4 separate regions of the Homo sapiens genome follow, and regions 2, 3 and 4 are each linked to region 1. Evidence: promoter capture Hi-C in 16 types of primary human blood cells and fetal thymus (Javierre and others, 2016). All regions are on one chromosome and are shown on one strand. The core of a region is centred on a gene start or on the middle of the fragment in contact, and the rest is flanking DNA. Distances in the headings are between cores, read along the strand shown. Region 1 holds the start of LINC02219 (long intergenic non-protein coding RNA 2219). Region 2 has its middle 4.7 kb from the start of TILRLS. Region 3 has its middle 15 kb from the start of CD180. Region 4 has its middle 23 kb from the start of TILRLS.

Region 1 (3,363 bases), core at 85-2,584:
TGGGGGATGTAGTTGCCCCCTCCCTCTCCCTGTCTCTTGTTGTTCAAAAAAATGATCTTAAACTACAAAAAAAAAAAAAAAAAAAAAAAAAAAAGAAAGAAGGAAAGAAAGAAAGAAAGGAAGAAAGAAAGAAAAAGAAGTCAAAGTCACTGTGTAGGTTGGGAAGGCTGCAAACTGGTTAAGAAAAATCAGTGTGGGAATTAAAAATACTAAATTAGCTTTGCAAATATGATACTTTTCAAAATTAAGTAAACCTGCTTTTTTTAAAAAAGGTTAATCTTTAACATTTGCATTCATCATGGCCACATGTGCTCGCGCTGCTGCCTGCCTTTTGCCATCTTAATTGCAATATTCACATATAAGTAGGGTAAGTGAATGTGTGTGGGTGGAGGGTTGGGGGATGGGCTCAAGCAAATAAACATAAAACTCACTCAAGGTCCTTTTGGGCTTGACATTAATGAATGGAACAAGTGGGGAGATACTATTTTCATGACTGCACTAACTACGTGTGGTATGTAAAGTCCATATGAAAAAAAGACAAATAGGCCAGGCATGATGGCTCACGCCTGTAATACCAGCAGTTTGGGAGGCTGAGGCAGGTGGATCACCTGAGGTCAGCAGTTTGAGACCAGTTTGGCCAACATGGTGCCATCTCTACTAATAATACAAAAATTAGCTGGGACTGGTGGCAGGCACCTGTAATCCCAGCTACTCGGGAGGCTGAGGCAAGAGAATCACTTGAACCCAGGAGGAGGAGGTTGCAGTGAGCCGAGCTGGTGCCATTGCACTCCAGCCTGGGCAACAAGAGCGAAATTCCGTCTCAAAAAAAAAAAAAGAAAAGAAAAAAAAAAAGTCAAATTAGGTGTTATCTAGACAACAAACAAATTCATAGTTCAGTTTCTTTACATGGTGAGTCCTTTTTTTTTTGAAATATGCTTAAAATATCAAAGTTTGCCATATACCAAACTTTTTAAGGAATATCTCTTATTACAAAAACAAGGGCAAGTTTGTATCCAATAACATTGGTTCCCAAGCCTAGGAAAAACAGACATTTTAAAATACACTTGCCTTTTTTTAAAAAAATTAATCAAACTGTTAAAATTTCTCCCATTATGACTCCTTTTCCCCTATGTTTGTAAGGTCTTATTCTTCTCTACTTCGCTCCAAGTTCCCTTCCTCTCTGAGATCTTGGGATGTTCTTGTGAATCCTGGTCTTACCTTGGCTGGGCCCTCACTCACTTCACTCACTTCTCTGCATGCAATTCCAAAGCTATGCTGAAACTACTTGCTTATATCCTGTCTTCCCCATTAGACTGTGAACTCCAAGGGACCAAGGCCTGTGACTTATTTATTCATCTCTACGTTTCCATGTCCATTGTACAGCCCTGTGTGCAACAGGTGATCAAACAATGCCGAGTGTCCTGTCATTGGACCCTTCTGCTGTCACATCGTTAGCTGTGCATTTCTAATATGCAATATGTCTCTTCGCTTTAATCCTTGTGATTTTCCACTGGATTCTTTTGAGTTTTGATTCTGAGGTTCTTTTTTTTTTTTTTTTTTTTTTTATGAGACAAAATCTCGCTCTGTCACCCAGGCTGGAGTACACTGGCTCACTGCAACCTCCGCCTCCTGGCAATTCTCATGCCTCAGCCACCTGAGTAGCTGGGATTACAGGCACGCACCATCATGCCTGGTTAATTTTTGTATTTTTAGTGGAGAGGGGGTTTGGCCATTTTGGCCAGGCTGGTCTCAAACCCCTGGCCTCAAGTGATCCCCACCCCACCCCCTCTGCACCGCCTCCGCCTCCCAAAGTGCTGAGATTATGGGCGTGAGCCATCACATCCGGCCTGATTCTGAGGTTCTTAATTAAGAAACAGAAATCACGTCAGCTGATGTGAGGCTTACGGAAATTGGTGTGTTTGTGTGTGTGTGCATGTGTGTATGTGTGTTTATGTGTGGGTGTGGGTGGGTGGGCTGAGCATTGTCTCCCTTTCTCTTGCTTTGCTCCTAACTTCCACACCCCACCCTCACACTCTATTTTCATTCCTTCTGATTTCTCTTTTTGGAGCACATCTGAAGGTGAGAAAACTTCATTGTATTACTATATTTGTACTTGCCAAATACTATGCTGAATCCAGCTGCAATTCTTAAATGATTCTGAAGAAAGTGGTATATATCTAGTGCAAAATACATTTCCTTGTAATCTCTAACTATAAGCATCCTCTTCTAGTTTCTAAGTATGGCATGGTGTAAATAAAACTGTCTGAACTTTTTCTAGCATAAAGAAACATAGCCTAGAAATATTCCAAAGTCAGTACAAATCACCCTTTTAAGAATATCTAATGGCATGGGGAATGGTTACCAGAAGGAAAAAAAAAAAAAGCATGGTATAAAGCTAAGTAGGATTGAATTCCATTTAGGTATGTTCATTTTTTTCTCTTTCTTTCTGTGTGTGCACGTGTGTATGTAAAGATTGAAAGGTAATACATAAGAATATAAGCAAGTGCTAATTGAAATCATGGGACTTATAATTACTTTCTTCATTATACTTCTTTTCTGCATCTTCTCAATTTACCAAATTATGATGTACTTTTTAAAACAGAAAAACACACACACACACAAAACCCCTGAAAAATTCAAAAATGAAATAGAGTGCGACATTTAAAAGGAAATCTGTTTTATGTATTGTAGCCTGGGAAAAAGGGAGAGCAAAGGGACTTTTTTAAGTGTAATTTTTAAAATGAAACATTGTTTTGAAATTTGCAAGAGTAGAATAGTGTATTGAGCTTCCATTGGCTTAACCAATTAACCACACTGCCATCATCGTTTCGTTTATTTCCCCCTCCCCATTTTTCCTTCCAAGCAGTTTTGGGTTTTTTTGTTTGTTTGTTTTTAAGGATGCCAGTTATGCCTTAATTCGGTCGGATATATTTTATGTAACTCGGCTTTTTTTGTTTGTTTGTTTTCTTTCAGGATACTTTAGAGAGCCTCAAAGCTAACGTGAGACAGCATCTTGGTTCTGCAAGGACGTGTCCTTCAACCCAACGCCCCCCACCCCCACCCAACCCCAAGCAAATATCCTGTTGAAGTCTCCGTGAACAAACATCTATCAACAGAAAAGCGATATGGTATTTACTCAACTTTTCTTGTGTCCCTTGGGTCGGAGAACAGACTTCAGTGTCTAGGAGAAAGCCCGGCCTCGCCGGGCCTGGGCAGCCCAAGCTGCCCCATTGTGATTCAAGATTCGGGGTGTAAACAAATGCAGTGTTTAACAATCGCCAGTTTGCTTTTAATGTTTTATAGCCATGACTGGGGCTCAGGAAGAACACAGTAGTGTCTTCTTCACTGGAGCTGAAGTCGAGG
Region 2 (3,375 bases), core at 204-2,703, 930 kb after region 1:
AGAATCTATGGGGTTTTTCTTCATGGCTTTATCTCTCAATGCCTTAGATGGTGCTTATTTCCAATTGAATAAATTAACTTTAGTTTTTAAAGAGTTGGCTGAGACTGCATATCTTGGTAACTAGGAAGCACTCTGAAAGACAAACATGTAAGAAATCTCAGAATCACAACATCCATTGTCATATAACCAGGCATCAAACTGTCATGAAGGCTTATCAGGAGACACAGTCCATGTGAGCTATCTGATTGTCCTCACAGTAAGAATTGTCCTCACATTTGGGGGCCAGTGCCTAAGTCATTACTGGTAAAGGAACTATGAGCATTTCAGTTGATCCATGAGAACTCATGCCCCTCCCTTAGGATGGACCTTGCTAAGCTTGGCTGTTTGATATTTCTCTTACACCTTAGGAAGCCTCAGAGCATTAACCCAACCCTGCTGGGGACTGACTTGACAAAAGCACTCTACAGACTGGGTTTTCCTCATCCTTCTGGGACATCGTACTGGTTTCAAATGCCAAAGAGCCACATTTGAATTCATATTCCAGAGCTCAGCATGTCTATATTTGATCCTTCGGTTATTTTTGTACAGTCCATTCCCTTGTTTCTGTAGGAATCCTAACTACCTTAGAGTATTGACTGGATACTCCTTCACATGGCGTTCTGCAGAGCAAGTAGAAAAGAAAGGATTCCTGCTCAGCTTCCCAGCATGAACAGACATCCCTAATGTAGACAAACACACAAAAAATACACTGCAGCTGAAGTTCAGATGAGTCTTGAAAGGCATCCAGCTGCTCTCTTAAACCCAGCTGGTATGTGTCCTGGTTCAATAATGGAAAAGACTGGCAAAGCTTGGAGAATCAGTGCTAAAGTCCTAAAGGCTGTCATGTCTGAGCATGCATGGCCTCCCTGGGAGGCAGGAGGCTGGAGGGAAAAAGACTGAGTAACAGGATATTAGGGAAGATACAGGGGTCCTAGCTAAGAAGGACCCTACTTAGTAGTTGACTTCTTCCTGGCGTCTGGTTTCAAGGAGACTGCTGCAAATTAACAGTGACAGGAAAGCCACAAGGCTTACAGGGGGAAAAACTGGAGTATCTGAAGAAGTCACAGATGGTGACACCTGAACTCCCAGCAGGTCATTGCAACAGGAAATCCCATGCCCATCCTCTCACCATTCCTTCCATCTACCATTCTGCCTCCCTCTCATCTCCTGTGTGTCAATCACCTGGCCACCCATGAAGAGACTGGAAAAGAAGCTCCCCTGCATTCTCCTAACTCAAGCCCTCCTCATCCTCTGTACGTCCATCCAGCTCCGCAGAGCCTAACAACTCTTTCTCATTTCCATTTTTGTCATCTGTCGATTCATCACAGTATTCCTTTGGCCTCCTACTTACCACCAGATGTGAAGCTGGTGGGTATGGGTTTATAGACACTATTACTACCAGACCCTCTTCCCTTCATTGTCTGGAAGCCTGTCTCCATTTAAGCTATAATCCCTTTTGCCATTTTTGACCTAGTTCCCATTATTTTCTATTTTTCCATATTAACTCAAATAAGCCACTTCTCAGCCTGTATATATTTCACTGGCTCCAGTTCTTCTCTTGCAACTAAAATGAATGCCTGTTGGAAAAAAAAAAAAAAATCTACAGGCCATTCCCAGACTCACCCACTTTCTTAGCTTAAAGGACTAGAGGGGAAGCTCCTTTAAAAATTCTGGTGGCATTCCTTGGCTAGACAAAGAGGTTCTATAACTCATGATCACCCTGCTCCCTGCAACCTTCAGATGGGAGAATGCATTTATGCACATGAAAAATATGAAAAAAGTGTGGATAAAGCATTCCTCAATAACAGTCAAGTCTATCTATTACTGCATGAAAAACTGATAATAGGAGATTAATGTGTTTCACAGATAAGGTGAAGAAAGAAGAAATTGAGCAAGAGAAGAAAAGCAGAGTAAGGAGCCAAGAGTTTAATGGCAAAAGGACATTCATCTGAGGCATAATTAATCCTCCCTTCTTACCTTCAGCCCCAGAGAACTAGAAGTATAACTAAACAAAAGCTTAAGAGGCACCACTTTGGAAAATATTATTTCTTGAAACATGAATGGCGTGACCATGGGTCTGAACAAAGACACCTTTGGGGATAAATAACCCACAGACTGGTTCCTGCCCCTTTCAGGGCATATTTCAGAAGGAATCACATGCACTGTGTTTGTATCACAAACCCTTTGAAGCAAATCAAATTTTTAAATTCTCTCGCTGTTGCTTTAATATGCTATATCTTGCTTATCCATCATGTAGGAAAACATTAAAACTACTTAAAAGTGTTTACAGATGCTATTCCTAGCCTATTTTTCTCCAAAATCAACTAGTTTCCCAGCTGATCAACTGAAACTGTAGAGGATGTGGCACTCTCAGGAATTATACCCTGAAACAGTAATTTCAGGGTAGTTTTATCATCCTCCCAAAGTGATCATTGCATTGCCCTGGCTGTTGGCAACCTGCATGGTGACACTCTTTGACACAGGCGAGAAATAAGAAATATAGTCACGAGTCACTTCATGACAGGGATATGTTCTGAGAAATGCATTGTTACGCAATTTTGTTGTTGTGCAAACATCGTGGAGTATACTTATGCAAACCTAGATGGTATATAGCCTACTACACACCTAGGCTATATGGTACAGCCTATTGCTCCTAGACTGAAAACCCGCACAGCATGTTACTGTACTAAATAGTGTAAGGAAATAGTAACACAATGGTAAGTATTTGTGTGATATAAATTTTTCAGCTCCTTTATAATCTTATGTATAAGCATATGATACACCTATGTATAAGCATTTTGTCATTGATCAAAATGTCATTATGTTGTGTACAACTGCATATACGTTTTATAGTTGAAAGCTTCAGGTTATGTTAGTTAACTCTCCTGGTGTCAAGATATACACAGGTCCACCTGAATCCAGAGCCCACACTTTCAAATAGGTTGATAATAGAAATTTTTTTAATTAGCCACATTAAAAAGGAGAACAAAAACAACTATAGCTGACCCTTGAACAACATGGTTTGAACTGCATGGGCCCACTTACAAGTGGATTGTCTTTCCCCTCTGCCACTCCAGAGACAGCACGCCCAAAACCCTTCCCTTCTTCCTCCTCCTGAGCCCACTCAACAAGATGATGATGATTAAGACCTCTATGATGGCCCACTTTCACTCAGTGAATGGTAAATATATTTTCTCTTCCTTATGATTTTCTTAACATTTTCTTTTCCCTAGCTTACTTTAAGAATGTAGTATATAATACATATAGCATACAAAATATGTGTTAATCAGTTCTTTATGCTATCAGTCAGGCTTCTAGTCAACAGTAGACTATTCA
Region 3 (3,088 bases), core at 362-2,861, 980 kb after region 1:
AAATATACCACAAAATTAGCCGGGCATGGTGGTGGACGCCTGTAGTCCCAGCTACTCAGGAGGCTGAGGCAGGAGAGTGGCGTGAACCCGGGAGGCAGAGCTTGCAGTGAGCCGAGATAGCGCCTCTGCACTCCAGCCTGGGCAACAGAGCAAGACTACATCTCAAAAAAAAAAAAAATTATATATATTTAATGGTCCCTTTACCAGACTGGAAGCTTCCTCATGGTGGAAAAGGTGCCATCCATCTATTAATATATATAATATATATGTTAAATATTTATTGAGCATCTACTCTGTACTAAGCACTATGCTGAGACCTAAAATATAATGATGAACAAAACATGTATGGTCCTGCCTTCACAATGCCAATAATCTAGTGACTAGAGACAGACACTTAACATCATCACAAATAAAGAGAAAATTACAATGGACATAAATGAACGATTAAAATAAGAATGGGGGCCAGGTGCAGTGGCTCAAGCCTGTAATCCCAGCACTTTGGGAGGCCGAGGCAGGTGGATCACGAGGTCAGGAGTTCAAGACCAGCCTGGCCAAGATGGTGAAACTCTGTCTCTACTAAAAATACAATAATTAGCCGGGTGTGGTGGCGGGCACCTGTAATCCCAGCTACTCGGGAGGGTGAGGCAGAGAATCGCTTGAACCCAGAAGGTGGAGGTTGCAGTGAGCCAAGATCGGGCCACCGCAGTCCAGCCTGGGTGACAGAGCAAGACTCTGTCTCAAAAAAAAAAAAAAAGAAAAGAAAAGAAAAAAAAGAATGGGAAAGATATTATGTTTTGGGTTAGGTTGGTGGCAGAGGAGAGGGAAATTACTGAGGAGAATTAAGATTTATTTATAAGAACCTAGTGATCTTGAAAAAAAAAAGACTTTTTAAAAGAAAATACAGGAGTTATGGCTGGATTAAATGGTGTTGAGGAGAATTTTATGACAAATGTGAGTTCCAAATTTCTGGCTTAAGACATTGGGCGGATAAAATTGCTGTTGTATGAATTGATGTAATAGGCTGAATAATGGTCCTCCGAGGAAATTCATGTCTTAATCCCTGGGACCTGTAAATATTCTCTTATTTGGAAAAAAAAATAGTCTTTGTAGATGTAATTGAGGATCTTGAGATGGGGAGATGATCTTGGATTATCTAGGTGGAACCTAAATGCAGTCGCTTGTATCCTTATAAAAAAGAGGCAGAAGGAGATTAAAACACACACACACACACAGAGGAGAAGGCTATGTAAAGACAGGGCAGAAAGAGAATTGAAGATGCTGGCCTCCAAGATTGGAGTGATGCTACCACAAGCCAAGTGTGACAATTAATTTTATGTGTCAACTTGACTGGGCCATGGAGTGCCCAGACATTTGACCAAACATTATTTTTAATGTGACTGTGAAGGTGTTTCTGGTTGAGATTAACATTTAAATGAACAGACTGAGTAAAGTATATTATCCTCGCCAAAGTGGGCTGGCCTCATTCAATCAATTGAAGATTGGAGTTGAAGAAAAAGGCCAAGTAAGAGGGAATTTCTCTTACGTGACTGCATGAGCTGGAGCATTGGTCTTCTCTAGAGAGACAGTTTGATCCTATTGGTTCTGTTTCTTGGGAGAATCCTGACTAATACAGCAAAGAATGCCAGCAGCTAACAGGAGCAGTAAGAGACAAGGAACACATTCACCCCTAAGGCTCCAGAGGGAGTACAGCCCTGCCAACACCTTGATTTCAACCCAGAGGAATTGATTTTAGATTTCTGGCCTCCAGGACTATGAGAAAATAAATGTGTGCTGGGTTAAGTCAGCTCATTTTTAGTAATTTATTACAGAAGCCATAGGAAATTAATACAATAGGAACTATTATACAAGACGAGTCTAAGTGTGGGGGGGTGGTGTATCAAGATTCCATCTGGGGACAGGCATGGTGGCTCACGCCTGTAATCCCAGCACTTTGGGAGGCCGAGGCAGGTGGATTACCTGAGGTGAGGAGTTCAAGACCTGCCTGGCCAACATGGCAAAACCTCATCTCTACCTAAAAATACAAAAATTAGCTGGGTGTGGTGGTGTGCACCTGTAATCCCTGCTACTCATGAGGCTAAGGCAGGAGAATCGCTTGAACCCAGGAGGTGGAGGTTGCAGTAAGCCAAGATCGTGCCACCACACTCCAGCCTGGGTGACAGAGTGAGACTCTGTCTCAAAAAAATAATAATAAATTAAAATAAATTTTTTAGGCCGGACGTGGTGGCTCACGCCTGTAAACCCAGCACTTTGGGAAGCCAAGGCGGGTGGATCACAAGGTCAGGGATAGAGACCATCCTGGCCAACATGGTGAAACCCCGTCTCTACTAAAAGTACAAAAAAAATTAGCCAGGCGTGGTAGCGGGTGCCTGTAGTCCCAGCTACTCGGGAGGCTGAGGCAGAAGAATGGCGTGAACCCGGGAGGCGGAGCTTGCAGTGAGCCGAGATCGCGCCACTGCACTCCAGCCTGGGCGACAAAGCGAGACTCCGTCTCAAAAAATAAATTAATTAATTAATTAACTTTTTAAAGTTCCATTTGGAACATGAAATCTGAGATGTCTAGCACACGCCTCTGGAAAGGAAGGCCGAATAGGGATTTGGATATGCAGGTATGAGACTGACAGAATGGTCTGAGCACAGGCTTGAAGTTCCAAAGTCCCAGGGACTGAAAAGCTGTGGGAAGTGAAGTAAGAAAGAAAGACAGCCAAGCACGTGTCCTGAGGAACTCTCAACATTGGGAGATCAGGTGGAAAGGTAGCCTGAGAAAGAAACTAGGAGAACATGGGGTCTTGGAGGCCAAGGGAGGTGAGTCGTTTTGAATGACAGGGTGATCATCCCTGGAACAGAATCCAATCTGGAGTACATTTTATGAAAACGATGAGGAGGAAGCAGAAACAGCCTGTGTGGGTGACTTATTCTTGAAGTTTGGCTTGGAAAGTGCATAAAGAAAGCAGATAGTTGCTATGAATATTGGATCCAGGAAAGCTTTTTTTAATTCTTATTTTCATATGGCAGAGTTTAGGGCAATTCCATATGATTTGGAAAATGACCCAAAAACAGAAATGGTTGG
Region 4 (3,388 bases), core at 569-3,068, 900 kb after region 1:
TGCTAATGAACAGAGATAGTAGTATCGGTAAAACTCTCTCTCCACCCTCCCCCTACCACTTATACTCTCTCACTTCCATTAGGAAGACCCATGCTCTGTCTGTGACCATCCCTGAGGCATGGCATTACACTGAGAAGGTCACTCTCAGGGCAGAAGACACAGTTCTCAGAATACTCAGTAATTCCCCTGCTGGGTGGGGCAAAATCCTTGGAATGAGAAATCTAAAGGAACAAAAATCATCTTGAAAGTGCTTTTGAAACAGTGAATTTTGTGTATGTCGAACAGAGGACCATTTGATTTCATTTTTATTTTAAAATGCTTGTGGGCAGAATGGTCTGATGTGCCACTTCTGTGGGTGTTTCCAGCAAGTTTAGCCAGTAAGAAATCTGCACCAGGAACTCTCCCCTTCAGAAACAACACATCCCTCCATCTCCACCTCCTTTTGCACGTGCAGAGGTCAATAAGTCAGTAGTAGATGTTCCTTTACCAGACGCAGAGGGGATCCTGGAGGTATTAAAAGATTCGCCTGCTCAAAGATCATTCCCCATGTAGCTTTTCAATTAAAGTCAGTTGTTTAAAGAATAGATGTAGAATGGGCATTAAGATGGCCCCTGATTTACAATGCTTCAACTTAACAATTTTTTGACTTTATGTCAACGCAAAAGAAATACGCGTTCATAGAAATCGTTGAGTGTTGAATTTTCCTCTTTTTTCTGGCTAGCTACATGCAGTACAATGCTCTCTCATGATGCTGGGCAGTGGCAGCGAGCCACAGCTCCCAGTCACAAGAGTAAACACCGATACTCTGCAGTGTACTGGGTTGCTCGATGATTATTGTCCAATCATAAATTTGTGTTCTGAGTGCATTTAAAGTGGACTAGGCTAAGCTTTGATGTTTGATGGGTCAGGTGTATTAAATGCATTTTCAACCTTCAGTGGATCAACCTTTTAATACCTCCGGGATCCCCTCTGTGTCTGGTAAAGGAACATCTACTACTAACTTATCAGGATGCAGTTCCACTGTAAGTCAAGGAGCATCTATCTGGGTGGAAAACTGCAGTGAGGGTGGGGTGAAGGCAGAAAGGGATCAATGAGAAAAGAGCTGAGAGCAGAAATCTGCTTGGGTTTCACAATGGGGCTGTGTGAGACCCTGCGAGGTGGGATGAGCAGACACAACCAGGAGTTGCAGAGATTAAAGGAGCTAAAGATGCCCATTTCCTACTTTTCTATTATTTTTCCCAAGAAAGGTCAGCTGAGTCCAGAAAATGAGAATGAACTAGGAAAGTTCACATTCCTGAAACTTTTCTCACATTACAATGAAACAAAACAGATTTAGGGAAGATACCATCACGGTCACCTCTCATAATAAACCGGATTAACCTTAGAGTCACAGATGTACAAGAGCACATTCAAGGACTGTAAGAGTTAGAGGAGATGTTTAGCGATCTAGTACAAGAGTTCTGAACATTTGGGGAGCCACAGACCACTTTAGAAAATGTGATAAAAGCAATAAGCCTTCTTTTGAGAAAAAATATTTATATCCACAAAGACATAACATATTATAAACTATTCCAGAGGGCTGGCAAGATCTCTGAAGCCCTCCGGGTCATGAATAAAAGACATCTAACCCAGCTACCTTCCATCCACTCCCACCCCATAATGATGTGAGGAAGCAGAGGGCCTGATGGGTAAAATAATACATCATAGTTTCAAACAGAGTTGCAGCAGGGCAGCAGAGTTAGCTCCATTGCCCGATTCTTAAAGCAGAATCCTTTCCACTACTTTGTGAATCATAAAGGAAATATCCACTTTGTTTATATCTCATGCCCAACATGCATAAAAATTAATATCTCCGCTGCCACTCAAGTCTCTAGGAGCCACAAGTCAAAATGTCAGAAACCTAGACAACTAAACAAGAACATCCTTGTTTTTACAAACACAGTGATTTTTTTTTTTATTCTGAATAAAACACATTCTTATGACAGCTACCTAGATACTCTTAAAGTGAGCATCCCACTGATCCCTGTCAGTCTGTTCCCAGACGTGACCATGACCAAGCCTGGTCCCCAACATTTGCCATATGCACAGGTGTACTCGTCTACTGCTGGATGGACATCTTTTTGAAGCAGTTCCATCTTATTCTCATTATTGTTCAGCAGAGAATTCTGTCCCCTTTTCCCTTTCTCTATTCAGAATGTGGGCTGCTGTTCTTTCCAAATCATGGCAAACTTTCCAAGTTGTCATGGGGCCAAACCCTCTCGCTCACCACCTCACATCACTGATTAATGGGTCCTCTTGAAATCTGGGCCTGAAGTGTAAGCTATTGTGTTGCAAAGGGCCCCTTCAGGCAATGAATCAGGGATTTGGGTGGGCTATTGTAGAATTTCGGAGCATGTAATATATCTTTATCACTTGGCTAGGGATGCTAATCAAAAATTACTGCATACCAATATTTTTTGGATCCCTTTCTCCCTTTACAAGAGCAAAGACTTGTCCTTAGAGAGGCAAAGATTCTAGGAAAAAGTAGAACACCAGTTACATAATTTTTTTCAAAAACTAAGTATGTAGAATGCTAATCTTTCCAAGACTGGTCATTATCCAGGGTGCTATGGTCATTGCCTAATGCAAGAGGCTGCATGGAACAAAATGCAAGTCCTTGGGGCACCAGCTGGGCCTGCCCCAGGGAGGACAGGTTCTAGCACCAGGTCAGACTAGTCCAGTCCACCAAGGGTGACCATCCTAAGCTTTTGCTATGACTTCCATGCTTACCCCCATCTCATCCGCCTTCCAACCCACATGCTTTTCACAGTTGGGAATGCTGCACACAGCAGAGTCACCCTTTGGGGACTCCTTAGAAACCATGTGTTAAACTCCAGAGTCTGATTTGACTCCCAGTGGCCAGTTGAATCCAGGAAGCTGCAGGAAATGTGTCCATCCCTTCCACTCCAAGACAGCTTTCAACTCAGAACACTTCGAGGTCACAGCTTTTTCTCGCTTAGGGAAAACCGGCAGACATCCTGCTGCTGGGTAATCACTGGGCTATGGGCAGAGCTGTCCATGACAGGACCTCACTCAGCAGTGAAGGAGAGAGATCTGGTGTCAGTCTTCTGAATGAGCACCTGGTAGTACCCACTCAAATGGCCCCTGGATGTGCTGACCCTGGCTCAGCTTTCAAGAGCTCCTTCTAAGCTGGCTACAGCCTCTCCAAGGAATGTTTTAAGGCCTAAATCTCAACCTGCCAATAGCTTGACCTCCTTTTGGATCAAGCCTGCCCCTCTCTCCTTCCCTACCCTGGCTGTGTGACTGCCTCCATCCATCTCACTAGGTTCAGAGTCCTGGATCATATACTTCTGCCCTTTCTCTAATTTACTGATGGAGTAAAAATTTT

The links. The method cuts DNA at HindIII sites, captures the fragments that hold promoters and counts their contacts. A CHiCAGO score of 5 or more calls a contact.
Region 2: a fragment that was not itself captured here is called in contact with the fragment with the promoter of LINC02219 in region 1 in 2 of 17 cell types (megakaryocytes and naive CD4 T cells); the score reaches 6.6 in megakaryocytes.
Region 3: a fragment that was not itself captured here is called in contact with the fragment with the promoter of LINC02219 in region 1 in 1 of 17 cell types (monocytes); the score reaches 7.1 in monocytes.
Region 4: a contact is called between a fragment that was not itself captured here and the fragment with the promoter of LINC02219 in region 1, in 1 of 17 cell types (erythroblasts). The highest score is 5.8, in erythroblasts.

Annotation. Positions count from the first base shown.
Region 1 is chr5:68,187,847-68,191,209 of GRCh38, reverse strand. It overlaps LINC02219 (long intergenic non-protein coding RNA 2219), which reads right to left and starts at 1,334. Exons shown (of 3, transcript NR_105003.1): 1 at 1,219-1,334. RefSeq lists an enhancer at 2,924-3,363. The HindIII fragment of the contact is 11,987 bases long and covers 1-3,363 here.
Region 2 is chr5:67,261,611-67,264,985 of GRCh38, reverse strand. No RefSeq gene overlaps it. Among named protein-coding and RNA genes, the nearest start is that of TILRLS, 4.7 kb to the left of the region's middle. The HindIII fragment of the contact is 1,208 bases long and covers 850-2,057 here.
Region 3 is chr5:67,210,670-67,213,757 of GRCh38, reverse strand. No RefSeq gene overlaps it. Among named protein-coding and RNA genes, the nearest start is that of CD180, 15 kb to the right of the region's middle. The HindIII fragment of the contact is 2,788 bases long and covers 218-3,005 here.
Region 4 is chr5:67,289,224-67,292,611 of GRCh38, reverse strand. No RefSeq gene overlaps it. Among named protein-coding and RNA genes, the nearest start is that of TILRLS, 23 kb to the right of the region's middle. The HindIII fragment of the contact is 1,857 bases long and covers 890-2,746 here.